7 separate regions of the Homo sapiens genome follow, and all the other regions are linked to region 5. The links are contacts of gene promoters, found by promoter capture Hi-C in blood cells and fetal thymus (Javierre and others, 2016). All regions are on one chromosome and are shown on one strand. Each heading gives the region's core, a stretch centred on a gene start or on the middle of the fragment in contact. The rest is flanking DNA. Distances are from core to core; before and after follow the strand shown.

The links. The method cuts DNA at HindIII sites, captures the fragments that hold promoters and counts their contacts. A CHiCAGO score of 5 or more calls a contact.
Region 1: a contact is called between a fragment that was not itself captured here and the fragment with the promoter of KATNAL1 in region 5, in 2 of 17 cell types (naive B cells and total B cells). The highest score is 5.6, in naive B cells.
Region 2: a fragment that was not itself captured here is called in contact with the fragment with the promoter of KATNAL1 in region 5 in 6 of 17 cell types (naive B cells, total B cells, neutrophils and 3 more); the score reaches 8.3 in naive B cells.
Region 3: a fragment that was not itself captured here is called in contact with the fragment with the promoter of KATNAL1 in region 5 in 3 of 17 cell types (naive B cells, total B cells and total CD4 T cells); the score reaches 8.4 in naive B cells.
Region 4: a fragment that was not itself captured here is called in contact with the fragment with the promoter of KATNAL1 in region 5 in 8 of 17 cell types (naive B cells, total B cells, fetal thymus and 5 more); the score reaches 11.8 in naive B cells.
Region 6: a contact is called between a fragment that was not itself captured here and the fragment with the promoter of KATNAL1 in region 5, in 8 of 17 cell types (naive B cells, total B cells, naive CD4 T cells and 5 more). The highest score is 9.1, in naive B cells.
Region 7: a contact is called between a fragment that was not itself captured here and the fragment with the promoter of KATNAL1 in region 5, in 4 of 17 cell types (total B cells, naive B cells, naive CD8 T cells and 1 more). The highest score is 10.5, in total B cells.

Annotation. Positions count from the first base shown.
Region 1 is chr13:30,717,171-30,720,220 of GRCh38, forward strand. It overlaps a transcript of ALOX5AP not described here. Among named protein-coding and RNA genes, the nearest start is that of ALOX5AP, 17 kb to the right of the region's middle. The HindIII fragment of the contact is 1,760 bases long and covers 624-2,383 here.
Region 2 is chr13:30,658,026-30,661,183 of GRCh38, forward strand. It overlaps USPL1 (ubiquitin specific peptidase like 1), which reads left to right. Exons shown (of 9, transcript NM_005800.5): 9 at 1-2,741. The coding sequence ends at 1,331. Among named protein-coding and RNA genes, the nearest start is that of TRN-GTT2-4, 14 kb to the right of the region's middle. RefSeq lists enhancers at 1,277-2,036, 1,777-1,896. The HindIII fragment of the contact is 3,262 bases long and covers 1-3,158 here.
Region 3 is chr13:30,639,492-30,642,478 of GRCh38, forward strand. All of the region lies in intron 5 of USPL1 (ubiquitin specific peptidase like 1), which reads left to right. Among named protein-coding and RNA genes, the nearest start is that of USPL1, 23 kb to the left of the region's middle. The HindIII fragment of the contact is 4,705 bases long and covers 1-2,987 here.
Region 4 is chr13:30,621,855-30,624,925 of GRCh38, forward strand. It overlaps USPL1 (ubiquitin specific peptidase like 1), which reads left to right. Exons shown (of 9, transcript NM_005800.5): 3 at 1-38. Among named protein-coding and RNA genes, the nearest start is that of USPL1, 5.5 kb to the left of the region's middle. The HindIII fragment of the contact is 521 bases long and covers 1,496-2,016 here.
Region 5 is chr13:30,306,004-30,309,168 of GRCh38, forward strand. It overlaps KATNAL1 (katanin catalytic subunit A1 like 1), which reads right to left and starts at 1,548. Exons shown (of 11, transcript NM_032116.5): 1 at 1,328-1,548. RefSeq lists silencers at 1,183-1,292, 1,323-1,552. The HindIII fragment of the contact is 2,852 bases long and covers 1-2,238 here.
Region 6 is chr13:30,598,167-30,601,111 of GRCh38, forward strand. It overlaps a transcript of HMGB1 not described here. Among named protein-coding and RNA genes, the nearest start is that of USPL1, 18 kb to the right of the region's middle. The HindIII fragment of the contact is 2,035 bases long and covers 408-2,442 here.
Region 7 is chr13:30,679,874-30,682,975 of GRCh38, forward strand. No RefSeq gene overlaps it. Among named protein-coding and RNA genes, the nearest start is that of TRN-GTT2-4, 7.4 kb to the left of the region's middle. The HindIII fragment of the contact is 9,070 bases long and covers 1-3,102 here.

The DNA.
Region 1 (3,050 bases), core at 254-2,753, 410 kb after region 5:
CGTTCCAAAGCCTTAGAGATCACCTCTCAGAAGCTGAGGGCAGAAGCCAGACCTCTTTTTGGGCAGGGTTAAATTCTTTATTACTGTTTTTGAAAAAACTCCCAAATTGAGTTTTTCCTCTTCACTTACAGCAGCATAACAACAATCATCAATGCAGAAGACTTCTGCGAGCAAAGGTGTGGGGGAAAACCCCAAGCAGTGGACACTAGCTGGTGTCCTCCAATTTGATTCTGATGCTGTCTACTGGGAGATAGTGTCAGATCCTCAAGCCTAAACCCTCCTTCTCCCAGTCAGAGGGCTGGCCTTTGGAACTTCTGACCAATCCACTTCAAGTTGAGGTTCCAACCACTCCGCTCTTTGGGTTTGGTTGATTTGCTAGAGTGGCTCACAGAACTCAGGGAAACACAGCTACCAGTTTATTGCGAAGGACATTTTAAAGGATAAAAGTAGGCAGATAAAGAGATGCATAGGGCGAGGTGTGGAAAGGTCCCTAGTGCAGGAGCTTCTGTCCATGTGGAGCGGGGGTGCACCACCCTCTCAGTACATGAATGAGTTCTCCTTCACCTGCCTATCAGCCTCTACATGTTCAGCTCCCCAACCCAGTCCTCTTGGGTTTTTATGGAAGCTTCAAGACACCCACATTCTTTCCCCAGAGTATAGGGCAAGACCTTCTCTGGGGAGGGTTTTAAGACCCACAGTCAGAAAGGTGGGGTGGGGTCAAGATTAGAGTCCTGCCTTGACGGGCAGGTGAAAGGGGTAGGGGGAGTAGGTGAGAAAAATTCTGTTTATTTTTTCTTTTTTTTTTTGAGACGGAGTTTCACTCTTGTTGCCCAGGGTGGAGTGCAATGGCACAATCTCAGCTCACTGCAACCTCCGCCTCCCAGGTTTAAGCGATTCTCCTGCCTCAGCCTCCCGAGTAGCTGGGATTACAGGCGTGTGCCACCATGCCTGGCTAATTTTGTATTTTTAATAGAGACAGGGTTTCTCCATGTTGGTCAGGCTGGTCTCAAACTCCTGACCTCAGGTGATCCACTTGCCTCAGCCTCCCAAAGTGCTGGGATCACAGGTGTGAGCCACTGCATCTGGCCAAAAGATTCTGTTTTTGAGGCCTGCCTCTGAGGTCTAACACACTCAACATTATAACAAGACTGTAGTAAGGGCTATGGGAGTTATGAGCCAGGAACTGTGGATGAAAACCTATCACAGATATGCATATATATATATATATATATATATGCATATCTATAATAACTCCACAACTACACACTGCCTTATTGCTCAGTTCTTCTCTCCATGTCTCTGACCCACCCTTGCCCCCTTCCTCCATCCTTTTCTCCATTGCATACCCATCCACTGTGCCCTTTGGAATGCTCACACCATGAACTGCAAACTCTCGTGTGGCTTCAGCCTCTTCTCTGAAAGTTCCTCTCACCTATTACTTTCTCTGGAACCTGCCATCCCTGCCACCTTCTCAAAAAAGGCCTTTTATTCTCTTCATTCCACAAAGCTCAGTGTCAAAACATGGGGTTTACACTGGAAGCTGAGGTCACATCAGTAGCCGGGATCAGGGTCGCCCTAGCTGCCCAATGCAGCTCCCAGGCCTCCTGTAAAACCTTGACCTTTGAGGTCATGACAGCCCTCTCCTGCTATGCTCATAGCTGACCACTGAACTCCTGGACACTCCCTCCCCCAAGTTCACAGAGAATGTGGGCACATGCCTTACAGTCTTCCCTTGATCCAAACTACTGCCTTCATCTTGAGTGACAGCAGCATCTTTTGGATGTCTTGGCCTGTCTAGCTTTATTTTTTTGTGTTCTGCCATCAAGTTGCTACTTCTGTTGCCATCGTGCCTGTCAGCGCAGTGCAGGCTGTGGTGAAATCCCACGAACTCAGGCATCACACTGACCGGGTCTGAGTCCTGTCTCAGTTGTCAGCTAGTTGTGCAATGAAGGGAAAGGGACCTACACTTTCCAAGCCTCAATTCACTCATCTATGGCATGGTGACAATAATGGAGGTTGATTTAAAGTCCTTTGTAAGAATTAAGAGTTATAATAGACATAAAGTGCTGTATCTGGTATACCTAGAAAACATTCCATAAAAGTTAGTAATTGTTGGTCATGTAATGATGACTCTCTAGGCTAGGATTTCAGCTTCATTGCATGCACATGGTGCACTCACAGGGCGTGACCTCTCTCTGTCTCAGTAACCTCATCTGAGGACCGGGATAATCATACCGCTTCAAAGGGATGTCATAAAGATTAAATAATATGTGTAAGGCTGCTTGCATTTAGCTGCATTCAACAAATATTTCTGTATCTTTCTCCTCATTTCTCCTTACTTTCTTGCTTATTATCTGCTCTAGGTATAGATTTCAGAGAACTAAGCTTGTTACAATCCTTCATAAAATAACCAGGTTGGTTAGGGCATTTCCAAGAGTCAATACTGTTTAGTGACTATTCTCTGTTTAATCTATTTTGATTGTCCAGGGTCATCTTTTGCTATGTCATAGGTTGTTGGCTTCTTCTAGAGAAGTGAGACGATGGACAAGTTCCAAGTGAGTGAGGCGACTGGTCAGGATATTCCGCTGAAAAACTCATGTCAGTTCTAATTCGTGATTGTAATTCAATCACAGCCTGAGAACAGTAGGACTGTAGTTCAAATGCTCTGTTCCCTTTTTTTTTTCCCAGAGGATAATTTTTTTTTTTCTTTGAGATGGAGTCTTGCTCTGTCACTAGGCTGGAGTGCAGTGGCGTGATCTCGGCTCACTGCAACCTCCGCCTCCTGGGTTCAAGCAATTCTCCTGCCTCAGCCTCCCAAGTAGCTGGGACTACAGGCACATGCCACCACGCCCAGATAATTTTCGTATTTTTAGTAGAGACGGGGTTTCCCCTTGTTGGCCAGGGTGGTCTTGATCTCTTGACCTCATGATCCGCCCACCTCGGCCTCCCAAAGTGCTGGGATTACAGGCGTGAGCCACCGCGCCCGGCCTCTAGAGGATAATTTTTAAATGTGCTTTTGCATTTGGAAAATGTGATTGGCATTTTTTTCT
Region 2 (3,158 bases), core at 361-2,860, 350 kb after region 5:
TGGACATAAGTTTTCCATCCCAAGTTGTAAATACAAACATGCAGTCAGTACAGCTGAATACAGAAGATACTGTAAATACTAAATCTGTGAATAATACTGATGCTACTGGTCTTATACAGGGAGTGAAGTCAGTAGAAATTGAGAAGGACGCTCAGTTAAAACAATTCCTTACACCAAAAACTGAACAATTAAAACCAGAACGTGTCACATCTCAGGTATCTAATTTGAAGAAAAAAGAAACTACAGCAGATTCTCAAACCACAACATCTAAGTCATTACAGAATCAGTCTCTGAAAGAAAATCAGAAGAAGCCATTTGTGGGAAGTTGGGTTAAAGGCTTAATAAGCAGGGGTGCTTCTTTTATGCCACTCTGTGTTTCAGCTCATAATAGAAACACTATAACTGATTTACAACCTTCAGTTAAAGGGGTAAATAATTTTGGTGGCTTTAAAACTAAAGGTATAAACCAGAAGGCCAGCCACGTATCCAAGAAAGCTCGTAAGAGTGCAAGTAAGCCTCCTCCCATCAGTAAGCCACCAGCAGGCCCTCCATCGTCTAATGGCACAGCTGCCCACCCACATGCTCATGCTGCTTCAGAAGTTTTGGAAAAGTCTGGAAGCACCTCATGTGGAGCTCAACTCAACCACAGTTCTTATGGGAATGGTATTTCTTCAGCAAACCATGAAGACTTGGTGGAAGGTCAGATTCATAAACTTCGTCTAAAACTTCGTAAAAAGCTAAAGGCAGAAAAGAAGAAATTAGCTGCTCTTATGTCTTCCCCGCAAAGCAGAACAGTTCGAAGTGAAAATCTAGAACAGGTGCCCCAGGATGGGTCTCCAAATGATTGTGAATCAATAGAGGACTTGTTAAATGAGCTACCATATCCAATTGATATTGCCAGTGAGTCTGCATGCACCACTGTTCCTGGTGTTTCCCTGTACAGTAGTCAAACTCATGAAGAAATTTTAGCGGAATTATTGTCTCCTACACCTGTTTCAACAGAGCTGTCAGAAAATGGGGAAGGTGACTTTAGGTATTTGGGAATGGGAGATAGTCATATCCCACCACCAGTACCAAGTGAATTCAATGATGTTTCCCAGAACACACATCTGAGACAGGACCATAATTATTGTAGCCCCACCAAGAAAAATCCATGTGAAGTTCAGCCAGACTCTCTGACAAATAATGCCTGCGTTAGAACATTAAACTTGGAGAGTCCGATGAAGACTGATATTTTCGATGAGTTTTTTTCCTCCTCAGCATTAAATGCTTTAGCAAATGACACATTAGACCTACCTCATTTCGATGAATATCTGTTTGAGAATTATTGAATTAATGCTTGTTAACTTTTTTCATATAATATTTATTATTATTAGAAGAACTTACAATGTGTTCAGGTAGTGTTTATACACTGGACTTGTGTAATTACTTGTGTAATAACCATGAACAAAATGCAAGGTTTAACCTTTGGTTCTGCCCATGAAGCATGTAATCTTTCTTACACATTAAAATCACTGAATGTGTTCTCCTTTTTGGTTTCATTTTGTTCTTGTGAGAGTATGAGGATTTCAAAATGTTAAAGATGAAAAGTGGCGTCTAGTTTCTGACAGTTTGTACAGTTGGATGCATTACATTTTTAGATTTGAAGTTTTGGTTATGTTAGTGTTATGAGTGATCTTTGTGGTGGTTTTCTTCCCCTGGAAACCTGTTGCTCGTGGCGCTTTGCCCACGGTGCCCGAGTTCTTGTCCTGTGTCCAGATATGCAGACAAATGAAGGGTGAAGAAGAAGAAGAGGAGCTTTATTTAGTGTTAGAACAGCTCAGAAGGAGACCCACAGTGAGCAGCTCCCCTGTGTCGGCGGGCAGGTCGTCCCTCAAGTGTTCAGCTCTCAGCAGAGAAAAGGCCCTGGAGAGGGTGACTCCTCTCAGCTCTCAGCAGAGAAGCAGCCCTGGAGAAGGTAGCTTCTGTTCGCAGGCAGATTGTCCAGAGGTCCTGCTGCTCTCAGACGGGGCCCTGGAGAGGATAGCTTCTATCCATAGGCAGGTTGTTCTGCCGTCTCTACAGGTCTCTGAAGCTCTTAGCAGAGAGGGTAGCTCCTCCCTGTTGCTGGTCGTCCCACCCTCTGCTCAGTTCTGGCTGAGCCTGGGGCATTTTACGGGCCTCGGGGGAGGAAGTGCATACTTACTGGCCTGGAAAAGGCACCAGTTCCCACTCCTACAGGTGGGACTGGCAGCCTGGCCCTCAGCCTTCAGGCCCTCCCTGTTCATGGCTTCCAGGCTTACCCCCCTGCTTTGATCTGAGAGCTGGTGCCAATAGCAGGGAGAAGCCAAGCTGCAGAGGCAAGCACTTCCGAGCCTGCAAAAGCAGGCCCCCAAAAGTGCAGGGATGCCTGAGTCTGCACCCGCACCCAGGAGGGTGGAGATCTTGCCTGCTCCAAGGCTGCAGCCGGAATGATAGCAGGCTGACTGGAGCACCTGCCACCATCATTAGTTCAAGAGTTTATGCAGATTTAAGTTGTATACGGTATATGAATGTGTGACAGTTTTCCTTATGGTTGTGTGGCCTTCTGTAAGAGCCTACGCCTGTTTGTTACACCGGTAGAGTGCTGTGGAATGTAAACTTTCCCTATGTCACTTATCTCCTTTATCTCTCCATACAGAGGAGGGCAAGAAACCTTGTTACTTGAACTTTAGTAATGTTAAGTGATCAATAAATCTATAAATAAATGATAGCAGAAAAAAGTTACCTGTTTTTGTGATGATGTACAAACTTTACATGTTATCACAAATACCATCTTTCTTCCCAAGACATTTACTTCTGTAACCAAAGTGGGACACCATCTAACAGTTCTGTTTTGGGAGAGAGTAATAACCAGTGCTTGTGAGGCTTGTTAGATGTTGGTTGTGATATATGAGATAGATGTTATTTCATTTAGACCTCAACATTCCTGTGCGTGAGATACTTTTATCACATCTTACAGATAAGGAGACTGTACTCATTCAGTTGTGGAGCTGAGATTGAGTAGAGTGGCTATTACAGCAGTTGAGTGCTGAGCTTATCAATATATGTTCCACTCCTCAGGCTTCATTTAAAGTAGGATGCCCAAACAGCACCACTGCCGTAGAGATTTGAGTTAACAGCAGTACTTACTGAGGTTT
Region 3 (2,987 bases), core at 48-2,547, 330 kb after region 5:
CTGACATTTCCTCCTCTAGGCCTGAAGAACTGTTGTAATTTATGCATCAGATAGGCCCTCAGATGGAATGAATATTCTTTTTTCTTTATATCAAGGTGTAATTTACATATAGTAAGACCGTTTTTAAGTGTGTACAGCTCTGTAACCCTCACTACAATCAAGATATAGGACTCTGTCACTCTAAAACTTCTCACCAGGTTCATCACCCCCAGCCACTGATCTGTTGAGCGAATACTCATTTCAAAGGAGCTTTTTCCGTAAGATCCCTAGAGTTTAGATGGAAGGGCTTTCGTGGTGCATTTAGCAGATACCATTTCCCTTCTAGACTCCCTACTTCAGTTCCCAGTTGAATTAAAGAATGGTTTCTCCCCCAGCCTGAGTCACTACCCTTCTTATCCCTGATAATTATTTTTGGAACAAAGTTACATCTTTTGCTCCACCTCCGCCATGGGCCTGGTTTTCTATGTAACAGAAGGAATTTTTAAATTATTGTTTTGTGTAATCATAATAATTGGGCAAGCATACAGCTCTTTTCAGTGCAGGAGGATTCCTCTCTTGTTTTACTGCCCATTCAAGGATAGGTGCTATATTTTAGCTGAAGATCTTACTAATGAAATGCTCTGTAATCATATAACTTATTTAAAGATGTGTTTTGAGCTCTTTCATAATATTTTAATTCATGGAGAACTTTATGTATTTTAGACCTGAAGATTTTATATTGTCATTATGAAATGTAAATTGTTTGCTTTTTCAGTTAATATATAGTTACAATAGAATACGGATTTAAAGGCTGATAATGAATTACAAAATTGTGCTATATGACATACTGTTTATGCATACAGTGTTGCATATTTTCATTTCTAGGATATTGATTTGTATTTCTACTTACAAAAAAACTTTTTAAAACTTATTTTATGGCTGGGCCCGGTGGCTCACACCTGTAATCCCAGCACTTTGGGAGGCCGAGGCGGGTGGATCACCTGAGGTCAGGAGTTCAAGATCAGCCTGGCCAACATGGTGAAACCCTGTCTCTACTAAAAATACAAAAAATTAGCCGGACGTGGTGTAGGTGCCTGTAATCCCAGCTACTCGGGAGGCTGAGGCAGGAAAATTGCTTGAAACCAGGAGGCAGTGGTTGCAGCGAGCAGAGATTGCGCCATTGCACTCCAACCTGAGCAACAAGTGCGAAACTCCTTCTCAAAAAGAAACAAAAAAACTTTTTTTAATGTTTTTGTTCAAAAGTAGCAGTGAGACTATCCCGCAAAGGTGACTACTAAAATAGCCTTTGTAACTACTGATATTTATAGAATATGCTTAGGGTTAGGGTATAACTCGCTTGTATTATACTCATCTACCATGTAGAAATATGTACATCATAAGGAAATATAATACTGTTTGATTACCTTGGATGATCATATTCTTGGGAGAGAGAATCTGAGTAGTTTGACTTAGGAATCTACCACTGGGTAAGTTATTGTAGGGCAGAGCTGTTCCATATAAATATGTAGGCTGGTGTTCCACCTCTTGAGAGTGGGTGCAGTTCTCAGAACCGGGAGAATATTTAGGGGACATATTGTTAGTTGCTTCTCTAGTACTTTTCCCAGTAGACAGATCTAGCATTTTTAACCTCAATTGTGCATTAAAAAGCACCGAGGGAATTTAAAAGTAAATACCAATCATAGGGACATTTGAATTAGGATCTCAGGGAAGGGGCTCAGGAAATCAGTAATTTTTAGAAACCCCACATGATTGTTATTGCTTAGGTAATAACACCTACTGTCTACCTTGTGGTCCTGCCAAGGTGACTGTTCCTGGCCATGTTCCAGGCAACTGTAGTTCCAGGCTAGGGGGAGAACTGGACCATGGAAGTGAGGCTCTGTCCAGGGTAGGGGAAGGGATGGAAGGTGACTGTTCCTGGCCATGTTCCAGGCAACTGTAGTTCCAGGCTAGGGGGAGAACTGGACCATGGAAGTGAGGCTCTGTGCAGGGTAGGGGAAGGGATGGAAGGACTCAGTCTCTTGGGCCAAATCGGTAAGGCAGCATCTAAGCTCCTCTGAGAATAGGAAGGAGAGCAACCAATTGGAAAAAGAATGGGAAACATGTAGATTCTCCTGCTTACCTTACTTTCCAGTCTCAAAGCTGGAAGCCAGCATTCACTGTTCAGTTATTTTCAATGACAACAAGATTCAAATCTTCAGTTGTAAAGTTGTTAAAGGAAAGGATTAGACTGAAAAGTTAAGAAGAACGGTAGATGAAGAGTCCAAAGAGTTGAGGCTGGTCATTTAACCATTGTGTGGCCACGCCCTCTCCACAGGTGGAACAAGATGATCAGAATAGAAATGGCCAATTCTGATGTGTTTCTACAGTGTTTCACTGATTACATTTTTTAACATCTGTAGCAAACCATTTCCATAATTTTTTTTTTTTTTTTTAGAGACGAGGTCTCGCTCTGTCACCCAGGCTGGTATGCAGCGGCATGATCATAGCTCACTGCAGCCTCAAATTCCTGGGCTCAAATGAGCCTCCTGCCTTAGCCTCCTAAGTAGCTTGGACTACAGGTGTGTAGCACCACTCTCAGCTAATTTATTTCATTTTATTTTTTGTAGAGATAATGCCTCGCTATATTGGCCAGGATGGTCTCAAACGTTCATAGAAACTGGTTTTAGGTTCCTAGAGGCTGGCAGCAATTCTCAGAGGTAACGCAAGCAGTCTTCCTGCCTTGGCCTCCCAGTGTGCTGGGATTACAAGGTGTGAGCCACCACACCTCATCAATTTTTGTTTTAATATACTCTAAGGCTTATCATAGTTCCGAGATCTTTTTTTTTTTCCTGAGAAATCTAGAAAGATGGAAGACAGTATGGGTCTTTTGTGGATTTTTTGTCCTAAGAAATTTTCATAAATGTCTGCCAAGGAAAAGGAAAGAGATCAAAGTGGTAATTAAATCTTTAGGATGGACATTTTTAGAAAAATGCTTTATAAACTTCCCC
Region 4 (3,071 bases), core at 506-3,005, 320 kb after region 5:
GTTTTCAAGAATCTATCTTTTTGTGTGAGGATCTGCAGGTAAAGTATTAATCTTATATAGTATATATAAGATTTTTCTTTTTTCTTTTGCTTTTTTATTAATTGTTTTAAAAGTTTACTCATTTTTTGTTTTTTAGACTAGATTTTTAATATGTAATCTCAGTTTGTAAGTCTGTCTGGTATACAATGTTATTTTTCCACCTACCTTTACTTGGTTGCGTAAAGATGTTCGTTTTTATTGCCATTTGATTTGCGAGAGGAGAAAATACATTTCAAGGTTTTTTTCTTTTTTTTTAACCTTTTGGAGGTCCTTGTTAGCTATTAGCATATAGTAGTTACTCTCTCATCTCTTTGGTTTATCTTTGCAACTGATGGGAAAAGTTATGAATTTCTAATGTACCTGGAAGAGTATTTTGGAAATTGGTTAGTCCAAAACCAGTATATATACTCTGAACTAAAGAGAGTATAGAATCTTGTAAATTCTAAAAGATCCTTTTAGAAGCTCTAAATCGCTTTTAGAATTATAGTAATTTGTACCGACTGGTACGGCTTTTATATAGCAGCTCATTAAATTCTGTAATACTCCACATTTTATTGTATTTGACAGTTTATGAGACTGTCTCATACACTTTTAATTCTCAGAACTTTGCAAGATTTGTATTCCTATTTCATGAATAAGAAAATAAATTGATTTCAGAGGGTTTGGGAACATAAGATCCTGATACAGTGGCAGAGCTGTGGTTGGAATACAGACTTCTAATTTCAGATCTGTTTATTCCAGCAAAAAATTAGCAGTTCATCAGAATTACCTGGAGTGCTTTTAATAAATTTCTGAGTATCACCCCCAGATGCTGATTCAATAGAGTTGGCCCAGAATTCTGTGGTTTTGTAACATTTGAGGATGAGTCTGATCATCATCAGCCAGGTTTGGAAAATACTAGACTAAATCACATGGTTGTTAATAGATACTTATGCTGGGTATAATTTGAAGTAAAGTAATCCCAGGCGTGTCTACAAATATAAATTTCTTTATGTTTATATTCAGTAATTTTTTTTATGAGTGTCACTGTTTGGCACTGTTGCAGATACAATGTTAGGATACAATAATAAAACAAAAATTTCTTGCCCTTAAGGAAGTTATGTCATAGAGTGGGAAAGACAGTGAACAAGTATGTGTTTTTCTGTCAGGTGATAAAAAGTGCTGTGGAGAAAAATAAGGCAGTAGGGACTGGAATGCCAAAGTAGGGGGAGTTTGCAATTTTAAATAGGATGGTGAGGGGAACGCTTCAATGAAAAGTGCAATTCGAGCAAAAGCCTGAAAGAGGTGAAGAGCAGTGAGCTTTCTAGGCAGGGGAAGCAAGTTCCAGGAAGGCCCTGAGAGAATGGAGGCTGCCTGTCATGTTTGTGCTACTGCAATGAAAGCAGCAGAGCGATAGAAGGTGGATCAGAAAAATAATGGGGGAGCTGGACCAAGTAGGGTCTTATAAGCCATTGTAAGCTTTCTGGCTTTTACTATGGGTGAAACCAGGAACCATGGCAGAGATGTTGGCAGAGGAGTGACATAAGTTGACTTCAGTGTTAAAAGCATTACTGTGGCTGCACTGTTGAAAATATATGTAATGGGCAAGACCTGAAGCAGGGAGATTAGTTATAGTATAATATGAATTATATTTGGTCCTTGTCTATGGTTTCCGTTACAGAGCTAAAAGTCTTGGAATTTCCTGAATGATAAGAGTGTCCTGTTATTCAGAATGAGCCTGTTTGCTAACACCGGGGTTCATACTATTGTGGTGACTTAGGATGGAGCCGTAGATAGCCTCAGATGGGGCAAGTAGCTGGAAAGACCACATGATTAGAGAATTAACGGGTTAGAACTTTTAGCCCCACGTACAGGCCTCCAGGAAAGGAGTGGAGGGGCTGGAGATCAAGCTGTATAAAAATATCAAGATTTGGATTTAATGAGTGGGTTGCTGGGGGCTGGTGCCGTGTAGGAGGTGGTATGCTTAGAGGAAGTGGAAGCTTCATACCTCTTCTGTCCCATACCTTGCCCTACTCATTTCTTCATCTATACCCTTTATAATATCCTTTAGGATAAACCAATAAACATAAGTAAGTGTTTGTTTGAGTTCTGCGAGCTGTCCTTGCAAACTAGTTATGCCCAAGAAGGGGGAGTGGGAACCTTTGTAGCCAGTCAGTCAGATGTACTGGTGGCCTGGATGTGGGATTGGCATCTGAAGTGGAGGGAGTCATGGGACTGAGCCCTCAACCTGTAGGATCTGACATGGTCTCTAGGTAGATAACATCCAAATGGAATTGGATTATAGGATACCCATTTGGTGTCCTCTGGAGAATTGCTTGGTGTGGGGAAAAAGCCCCCACACATCTGGTCACAAAAGTGTGCTGGGAGGATAGAATATGTGAAAATTGTCATAATCAAAATGGAGTCACTTGTGTTAAAAAAGAAAAAAAAATCCTGACTGGCCAGGCACAGTGGCTGACAACTGTAATCCCAACACTTTGGGAGGCTGAGGCAGGAGGATTGCTTGATCCCAGGAATTGGAGACCAGCCCATGCAACATAGTGTGGCCTTGTCTCTACAAAAAAAAAAATTTAAATTAGCTGGGCATGGTGGTGTGAGTCTGTAGCCCCAGCTACCCGGGAGGGGGACTACGGGTGCACGGCACCATGCCCAGGAGGTCCAGGCTGCAGTGAGCTGTGATTGTGCCACTGCATTCCAGTCAGGATGACAGAGTGTGAGACCCTGTCTCTATTAAAAGAAAAAAAAAAGACAAATAGATCCAGGAAAGGCTATGAAGAGAGAGCTTTCATGCATAAATACCAAAATATCTCAAAAGACTCTGCAAAAACCACACCCTTGCACAAAGGCCATCATGAAATACTTCTGAAATACACAGAAAATACATCATGAAATAAATACACAGAAAATACTTCTGCAAGGACATCTGCCCAGCAACTGCCTGGTCCATCTGTGGACGGGTGTCATCCTTGTTATTGATCCTTGTAGCCAAGGGTAATTATCTCAAAACAAGTATGTGATCCTCCTTATTTTCC
Region 5 (3,165 bases), core at 298-2,797:
ACTTCATTTTAATTAAGAGAAAGTTTTATAGGATTTGTGGTCTTTTTGTTTTTAAACACACACACACACAAACTCACAATAATATCAACAATTCTCCAACTTACTCCATAAAGCAGCAAATTTCTAGGATGGTTATCTACCTATTAAAAAATTTTAAAGGGTCGTCAAGGAAGGTTTCGTAAATCTGTGTCAGCTTCCTTTACCAGCAAGTCTTTGAGTCAACTCTAAGGACTCAAGTGTACTCCTGAACATAAAAAATATATAAAGAATTAACTAAATAATTAAAACATGGTATTTTTCCTTCCGAAAACATGCTGAGAAATTCTGAATAACACTGGAATAATCAAAGAATTATTGCTGCCTACTGCTAAAAAAGTCTGTTTTTAAAAGTTACTAGTAATTTAAAGCTGAACTAATCAAAATATGTGTAGGCAGTGTTCAGGCTGGCAAGGGGGGGGTGGGGTGGAGCACTCATTTCACAACCTTGAACCTCAAGAAATAAAATTCAAAAATGCAAAAAGTTAAAAATGCCAGATACCACCATATAATCGCAATGACATCTTTTTATCTATTTCCACACTTAACCTTTAAACATTACTGCCCTTTGAGTAATTACCAATTGATGGGTTTAATATGCAAACACCTCTGAGCTACTTTAAAACAAACATGACTAACCCAGAAATAAACGTATCCAGGAAAGGAGAAAAACCTGTTAAAACACGGTTTCTCAGGTCTCACATCCAATGTGTGACATACATACGGTTCTGCACCGAAAGGCAGCAACCTGCGAGGGTCAGAGGCGCCGAAGACCCGAGGCCCTGCAGCTTGGGCGGCTGCTCATCCCTGAGACTGTGCAGGGCGGTGGCCCAGCCGGGGTGGGGCTGAGCGCTGCAACTGGGGCGGGCCCAGCTACAGGGCGGGAAGCCCGAGGCTCACCTCCACTTCCCTTTCCCAACGCACAGAGCCCAGGTCCGCGACCACTCAACAGCCCCCTCAAGACAAAGAGAGATTTTTTTTTCTGTCCCGGTCCGCTCAAAGTTTATCGGTCTTTCCCGGCGGTCGGGGCCGCCGGGCTTTGTAGTTCGCCAGTCCGAGCTACCCCACCAAGACCGCGAGCCCGAGGAGTCGCTGAACTACAATTCCCATGATGCACCGCGAGCCTGGCGCTCCCGCGCCCCTCCCCGTCCCCGCACGGGAGCCAGCGCCCGAGGAACCCCGCAGCCCACTGCCCTGGCGTCTCCGGCAGTGGGAGGCCGAGAGGGGCTGTTGGCTAGAGCCCTCCACCACCTGCTGTCTCGCCCTCGCCCCTTTCTCTCGGATTCATTACCCAGAAGGCGCAGGTCCGGGCACATTCAGCGATGCGGTCCAGATGGGGTGCGGGTGGGGCGCAGGCCGCCGCCGCCGCCGCCGCCGAGTCCGTTAGCTCGCGACGTGCGTGAAAAGGCGGCGGCGGCGTAGTGTTGCCATGGCAGCCGCGGCCGCGCGGTGGGCGCAGCGCGGGAGGGAGCGCGGGGGCTGTGAGTCCGCTCTGGGGCGGAGCTTGGGACTCCCGCCCAGGTTGCCGGGGGGAGGGAGGTGCAGCGGCGCGGGGTGGGAGAGCAGGGAGACAGTGACATTGAGGAGGACGTGTGGCCGACTGAGCTCTGGTCGTGCTTGATGAGCCTGCCTCCACTGCGTCCAGCCCCCGTGGCAGGGCACCTTCGTGCCTGCTGCTTTCGGAGGTGATGCCAGTGGCGTCGAAGGAGGGGGCACCCGGGGCGTCGCAGCGCCTTTCCCGCCGCCTGTCCAGGCGTCCGCCGCTGGGTCTGCCCCCAAGGGATGTGTGGATCCTACGCCACCTCTGTGTTTTTCTCCAGTCAAACCGAATTGAAGTCTTTCGCACCCCCTTTCTCCATTCTCTGGGGAGGGGGATAGAAGGGAATCCTTCGATAAGATGGAATGCATATGGCCTTTAGGATTATTCAGGAGGTTTTAGAATTTGCAAATGGCATTGCTTTCGACTGAATTTGGATTTATGCTGTTTCTTGGCAATCGTTTGTGGACTCTAGGATAAACAGGTTAAGAGCGTGGGCTTCTAAAACGAATTCTTAGTTCACGTCCTGCCCCTGTGCTTGGTAGCTGATGACCAGAGGCGCCTTTCTCACCTCTTAACGTTTTGATCTGCAAAAATGGAGATATCCATCTTGCAACTCTTGTAAGAAATACACGCATTAATACTGATGAAGCTCTATAAAACAAAGCTTAGCATTTAACAATAGCTATTAAATATTAATTATTTAATCAATAGTGATAAAAGTCAGAATAGTGGTTGGCTGTCGGGGAGGAGTTTGAGAGAATTTTTTGTAGTGATGAAAAAATTCTATAGCTAAGAGTTTCGGTTACAGAAGTATATGCACTTGTCAAAACTCTTGGAATGGGACATTTAAGATTTGTACATTTCACTGCATGTAAATTTACCTCAAAAGAGAACATAAAAATGTGTTGTTATTATTATTAGAGCTATAGACTCTAATGGAAACTACAGAGATATTCTAGGCCCAATCTCTAGATTTTATAGATGGGAAAACTGAGGCCCAGAAATTTAATAGAAAAAAAGAGGAAGGGGAGTGAATTCGTGACCTTGTCATTTTCTAGTAATGAATATCTCCTGAAAAATTATGGTTGAAAATAACAAAAATGGCTCCTGTAATCCAGCTGAGTCATCCTACCACAGAGATTTTCTTGAACTTGACTGAGTCCCTTATCCACCTTGTGGTGTTCCCCACGGCCAATGTCCTCTCAAGGATTGCACCGTCACTTCTGGCTCTCAGTTCTTGCTTTTCCTGAACACTTAGACCTCTCCACATATCACCTCTTACAACTCTCCTCTCTCTACTCCTGCTGACACATAATTTCGAAATCAGCCCCTTTTCTTTGGTTGTTTCTATAGCCAACTCTTTAGAAGGTTTGGAGCAGATAAGTGGTTTTAAATTAAGGATGCAAAAAACCTAAAATTAGAAATCCCTGCTCTTAAAAGTCCTTCAGTTCCTCCCATGATATTTTTATCCACCTACCACCTACCCCCATTTTTTCATCATAACCTGTAACCTCCCACTATTGTACCATCTTTCTGGTCCCATCTCTCCCCTCCTCTCCTCTCTTTATACAATACTTTTATTTCCATCT
Region 6 (2,945 bases), core at 175-2,674, 290 kb after region 5:
TTCTAATAGACACATACCCCAAGGTTATGCTGTTTGTCATCTCACAAAATGACTTACATCTAGAGATTTAAATAATTAATGTACTTTTCATAACTACCAGGTACAGTAGATCTGATAATGGCAGAGCTAAGCACATATACAGAAAGTAGGGCAAGGGCCAGAGACTCATTTTAAAGCAATGTTACAAGATCGTCACTGTTGCTTTTCATTTTTCTAAATGTGGCCACTGCTGTTTTCTCACTAAAGGAAATGTTTTATGTAAAGTGAATAACAGTACCTGGCATAAAATAAGTGCTCAATAAATGTTAAGGCCTTCTCTCCCTCTTCAACTGGCCTCCTCATTTTTCACAAAGTGAAATAGAAAAACAACATGGAAGATAATCCTGTTGCTTAGGAAAAATAACTAAAGCTTGCTAGACAAAATACACCTGAAAATATAGGAAGTGAGCTATAGCTGGCCTATATGCATGTATGTTGGAACAGGACAAGATAGTGTAGGGTGGGGTGAAGAGGACAGAGAAATGGAAGGAAAGGGGCTACAGCCTTGGTGGCAAAATAAAGGATAAGACGACTCTTTTAAAATGGTCTATTTCAAATGCTGGGTTGTGAAACTTAATTTGATTACTTCATGAGAAACAGCATCTATAATCCATCCCTGATTTTTCTACAACAAAAATTTATTATTTATTTTATGTTTGTGTGTAGATCTTTTATATATATACATGTACACACGTATATGTATATATTATATATGCATATGCATATATATGTGTATATACATATATAATATATTGTGTGTGTATGTGTGTGTATATATAATTTTTTTAAAGGAATGGGGTCTCACTATGTTGCCCAGGCTGGACTTGAACTCCTGGGCTCAAGCAATCCTCCACCTCAGCCTCCCAAGTAGCAACCAACAGTTTTAGTTTTGAAAAAATAACAAATATTAAACACCCATGTGTAAGGGTTGGTACTGGGCCCTGTGTTAGTTTGCATGGGCTGTCGTAACGTAACACTACAGGCCGGGCACAACGGCTCACGCCTGTAATCCCAGTACTTTATGAGGCCAAGGTGGGCGGATCACCTGAGGTCAGGAGTTTGAGACCAGTCTGACCAACATGGAGAAACCCCGTCTCTACTAAAAATACAAAATTAGCCATGTGTGGTGGCTCATGCCTGTAATCCCAGCTACTTGGGAGACTGAGGCAGGAGAATCGCTTGAACCTGGGAGGCGGAGGTTGTGATGAGCTGAGATCAGGCCATTGTACTCCAGCCTGGGCAACAAGAGCAAAACTCTGTCTCAAAAACAAAAAAACAAAAACAAAAAAACCCTGATAACACTACAGACTGGGTAGCTGGACCAACAGAAATTTATTTTCTCACAGTTCTGGAGGCTGGAAATCTAAGATAAAGTTGTTGGCTGGTTTGGTTTCTGAGGCCTCTCTCCTTAACTTGCAGATGGCTGCTTTCTTGAAATGTCCTCACATAGCTGTCCCTCTGTCTGTTTCTGGTGTCTCCCCACGTATCCAAATTTCCTCTTCTTATAAAGATACTAGTCATATTGGATTAGGGTCCACCATAAAGACCTCATTTAAACTTAATCACCTTTTTACGGCCCTGTGTCCAAATACAGTCACATTCCGAGTTCCAGGGGATTAGGGCTTCAACCTATGAATTGGGGGTGGGGCACAATTCAGCCCGTAACAGGCCTAGACCTTAATTTGTCAACACTACAGTTAGATTTATAGTATAGTAACTGCATCTGTGCTCATCTAAATGTCATACCCAAATGAAATAATATAGCATGATGATCTGAATTTATTAAAGGCAATTTTTCCTATAGAAACCCAAATCTATAAATTATATACAAACTGTGGTAAGTTACTCGATACCTTGCCAGGACTCATCTATGGTGGTAGATAGACCACAAAGAGTACCACTGAAAGATCCCTTTCCTAATCACAGTTTCCTCACTGGCTTGCCACAAAACCTAAAATTCTTCTATTCTTTCATTGGCAATTTATTTCCCCTGAAAATGTAAATAATCTCTGGCAGAGCAATCTATTAAGTGATCATCAGCCACTAACACCTTAGGGTAGAACAGCTCAGATCACAGTCTTAAAATAAATTCCATCAGTATGAAATTTTCTTTATTACTGCTCCGCTACTGGAATGTTAGATCACTGTCTGCTTTAATAATAATTCTGGTGTAGGTCATTCAAATTTTGTTTAAGATAATAAGACAAATAGCAGGTATAAAAACATTCCGTCATCTAATAAAGCAACCCGAGAACAGTAAGAAGAACGTGATGAAATTAACATTTTTGAGTACCTGCTAGGAATCAAGTATTCTGCTAGATATTTTAGAAATCATCTCAATTCAATCCTAAAAATTATTCTGTATAATAGTATAGGTTGAGTATTCCTAATCCAAAAATCTGAAGCTTTTTTTTTCCTGAGACGGAGTTTTGCTCTTGTTGACCAGGCTGGAGTGCAATGGCGCAATCCTGACTCACTGCAACCTCCGCCTCCTGGGTTCAAGTGATTAGGGATACTCAACTGGCTAAATATAATGCAAATATTTCAAAATCTGAAAAAACCCAAATCTGAAACACTTCTGGTCCCAAACATTTCAGGCAAGGGACACTCAAGTTGTATTAATCCCATTTTACAGAAGAAGAAACAGGCTCAGATAAATGAACATCTCAGAGCTTGTTGATAGCAAAGGAGAGATTGAAACTGTCAGGCCTCTGATCCCAAGCCAAGCCATCACTTCCCCTGTGACTTGCATGTATACATCCAGATGGCCTGAAGTAACTGAAGATCCACAAAAGAAGTAAAAATAACCTTAACTAATGACATTCTACCACTGTGATTTGTTTCTGCCCCACCCTCACTGATCAATGTACTTTGTAATCTCCGCCACCCTTAAGAAGGTTCTTTAT
Region 7 (3,102 bases), core at 420-2,919, 370 kb after region 5:
CAAGCATTTGCTGCAAGCAGTCTTTTGCGGGGCCAGGGTTGAGAGGCAGCAGCAGTTTCCCTAAATTACAGATAGAGGGAGGTAGGTGGTTATGCTTGGCCAGATCTCTGTCTAGGGGTAGAGGAGTGCCTGTGTGTGGGTAGGGACACCGGCGGGGGGCTTTGCCAAACACAGTGGAACTGTCACGCTGGTCTCTCTTCTCAACTCTTTCACTCACCTGAGAAAAGGGTGTCTATGGACCATGCACACTTCTGTGGGGAATTTTACAAGATGTGAATCATCAGTGATGAAGATGCTTTCATTTAAAAAGAATTGGAGTACCTGAGATTAGAGATAACTTCTACCCTTTTAAAATATTTTTAAAAATTTCTTTGCACTGATTTTTTTTCTTCGTTTTTATGAGTTGTTTTCATTTGGGTGGGATAACTCAATCTACAGGAGAATATTAAGACTTTTTAAATTTTAAAAAATATACTTTCAAATACTTAATACATTTTGTGTTAAATGACAGCCAGCAGATATTGACTGAATTGGGCTAGATGCTTCAGGGATCTCCCTTCCATTTAAGACTCTCCGAGAGGCCATTCCTGACTGCAGGTCACTGTATTATTTTTAATTTTAAAATTTTTACTTACTTATTTTATTTAATTTTATTTTTTGAGACAGAGTCTCACTCTGTCGCCCAGGTTGGAGTGCAGTGGCACAATCTCAGCTCACTGCAACCTCCACCTCCCGGGCTCAAGCGATTCTCCTGCCTCAGCCTCCTGACTAGCTGGGGTTACAGGTGCAGGCCACCACACCCCGTTAATTTTTGTATATTTAGTGGAGTCAGGGATTCGCCATGTTGGCCAGGCTAGTCTCAAACTCCTGACCTCAAGCGATCCTTCCACCTCAGCCTCCCAAAATGCTGGGATTACAGGCCTGAGCCACCCCACTCGGCCTACTTTATTAATCCACTTGCAGAAACAGGATATACACAAAAACGTTTCAAGGCTGTAAGTGCCACTGCATGGCACCAATGGTAAACGTTTTACAAATTTGAGTCAGGAACAATCATTAGTGTCACTAGCAACAAAAATCAAAATTAAATGAAATAAAAAATTTCTTTCCCCAAATGGCAAAGGAGAAAGAAAGGTAATACTAACACGCAGTCAGGGTGTAGTGAGAGGGCCGCTCTCACACAGGACTGGTAAGTACAGAGCCATGGAGTAAGCAGGTCTTGAGCTGACACTGGAGAGGATCCTTTTTTTTTTTTATTTTTATTTTTTTAGAGTCAGGGTCTTGCTTTTTTACCCAGGCTGGAGTACAGTGGTGCCATCATAGCTCACTGCAGCTTCAAACTCCTGGGCTCAAGAGATCCTCCTGCCTCAGCATCCCCAGTAGCAGGGACCACAAGTGAGAGGATCCTTTAGTGTTGTCAAGGAGAAGGAACAGAGGTGTGGATGGGTGGGCACAGACACAGGAGCACAGCTGAAGCAGAGGATTACAAAGGGTGGAGCCTGATGTAAAGAAACCTAATAGGTGACAGAGCATGGAGGCTCTTGAATACCAGGCTGGAAACTGCATTAGGAACGGTGCTCATAATTGCAGAAAATTTTACATGGCCTAGATAGTCATCAAAGGATGATGTACAAACAACTATGGCATATTTATACAATGTGCCGACAGGATGCACTGAACATTTTGAACAACAAAGAGACTTGATAATGGCGAGGTTTTGAGGAGGTGAATCAGGATGCAAAAAAAGCAAACAACTAATAAAGTTGATTGATGACAAACACTATCAAAAGGCAGCCAGGAGAAAAGCTACTGGTTACCTCCAGGGAGCTGGTGAGGGAGGCTGGGTGGGAGGATCTACCCTTCTGAATTCTGAGGGCACCTCCAGTGTGGCCCTCAGAAAGCAGGAGCTTCCAGGCTAGAATCAGATCCCGACATCCCTGTTAATTCCACGGATTCCACACCGAGTCAGATTTATGATTTACTATAGGGTTTTAAAAACCAAATTGCAGGGATGCTAGCCTATCACAGCTTATCTCAGACATTGTCCACTAAGGTATACAGAGTGCTGCCTGTTCCTTTGGTACCCTAATCAGGAAACCCCATCAGATCTGCTCCTTCCTATGGGGTAGTGAGTAACACGAAGGCTTACCATCTCACACAGATAACTGGTCATAGGTCCAGCAGAAGTTTAAAACAGAAAATGAGGAAAGCCATGTGATTAACTGCTGCCAGACTGTTTGTGTTACAAACAGCAGTTCCTTAGGCATTGCCTGGGACATGCAATAATTTCTGTTACACAATCTGTGGTAGTTAAAATGCTGCACGATGAAAGCTATCTGATTTGGATTCATTATTAGGTGAGCCATCTCGTCTGCAATTTGGTTCCACCATTTTCATTTAACAAATGTAAAAAAGTTTATTAAGCTCTTACAAAGTTATGCTGGGCAAATATGCAAAAGTCCAGATCACCTACCGCAGGAACTAATCTAGCCTCCTCTCTGGGCACCCTGTTGTTTGGGGCTGGGCAGTTCTTTCCTGTGTAGAACCATCTAGGGCTGAATAGGTCATTCTGACACCTGGGCACCTCTGCCTGCTCGTAAATGGGACAATCAGAAAGGGCCCTTATGTTTCCAAACTTTCTTTAAAGTAGCTGTTCTGAAAACATGGTCCAGGGACCCCTGATTGTCCCTGAGACCTTTGAGGGGATCTTCAAGGTTAAAATTAATGTCATAATAATACTAATATGTTATCTGTCTTTTTTCACTCTCACTTTCTCACACGTGAACAGTGGCATTTTCCAGGTGACAGAGTGTGTGATAATGAACCTAACTGAATGCAGAAGCAAACATGAGAACCTAGTTTTTTCAATCAAACCAGACGTGAAAGAGATTTGCAAAAATGAAAAAACAATGCTATCCTCCTCACAATATTTTTGTTTTAGAAAATAAAGTTATTTTTCCTAGAAATGTTTTTGAGTTTATCAGTCATAGGTTTATTATTATAATTAAAAAATGAAATATACATACACAGACATATTTTTTAAAGTTCTCAGTTTTAATCTCTTTTTTTTTTTTTTTTTTTTTGAGACGGAGTCTCGCTCTG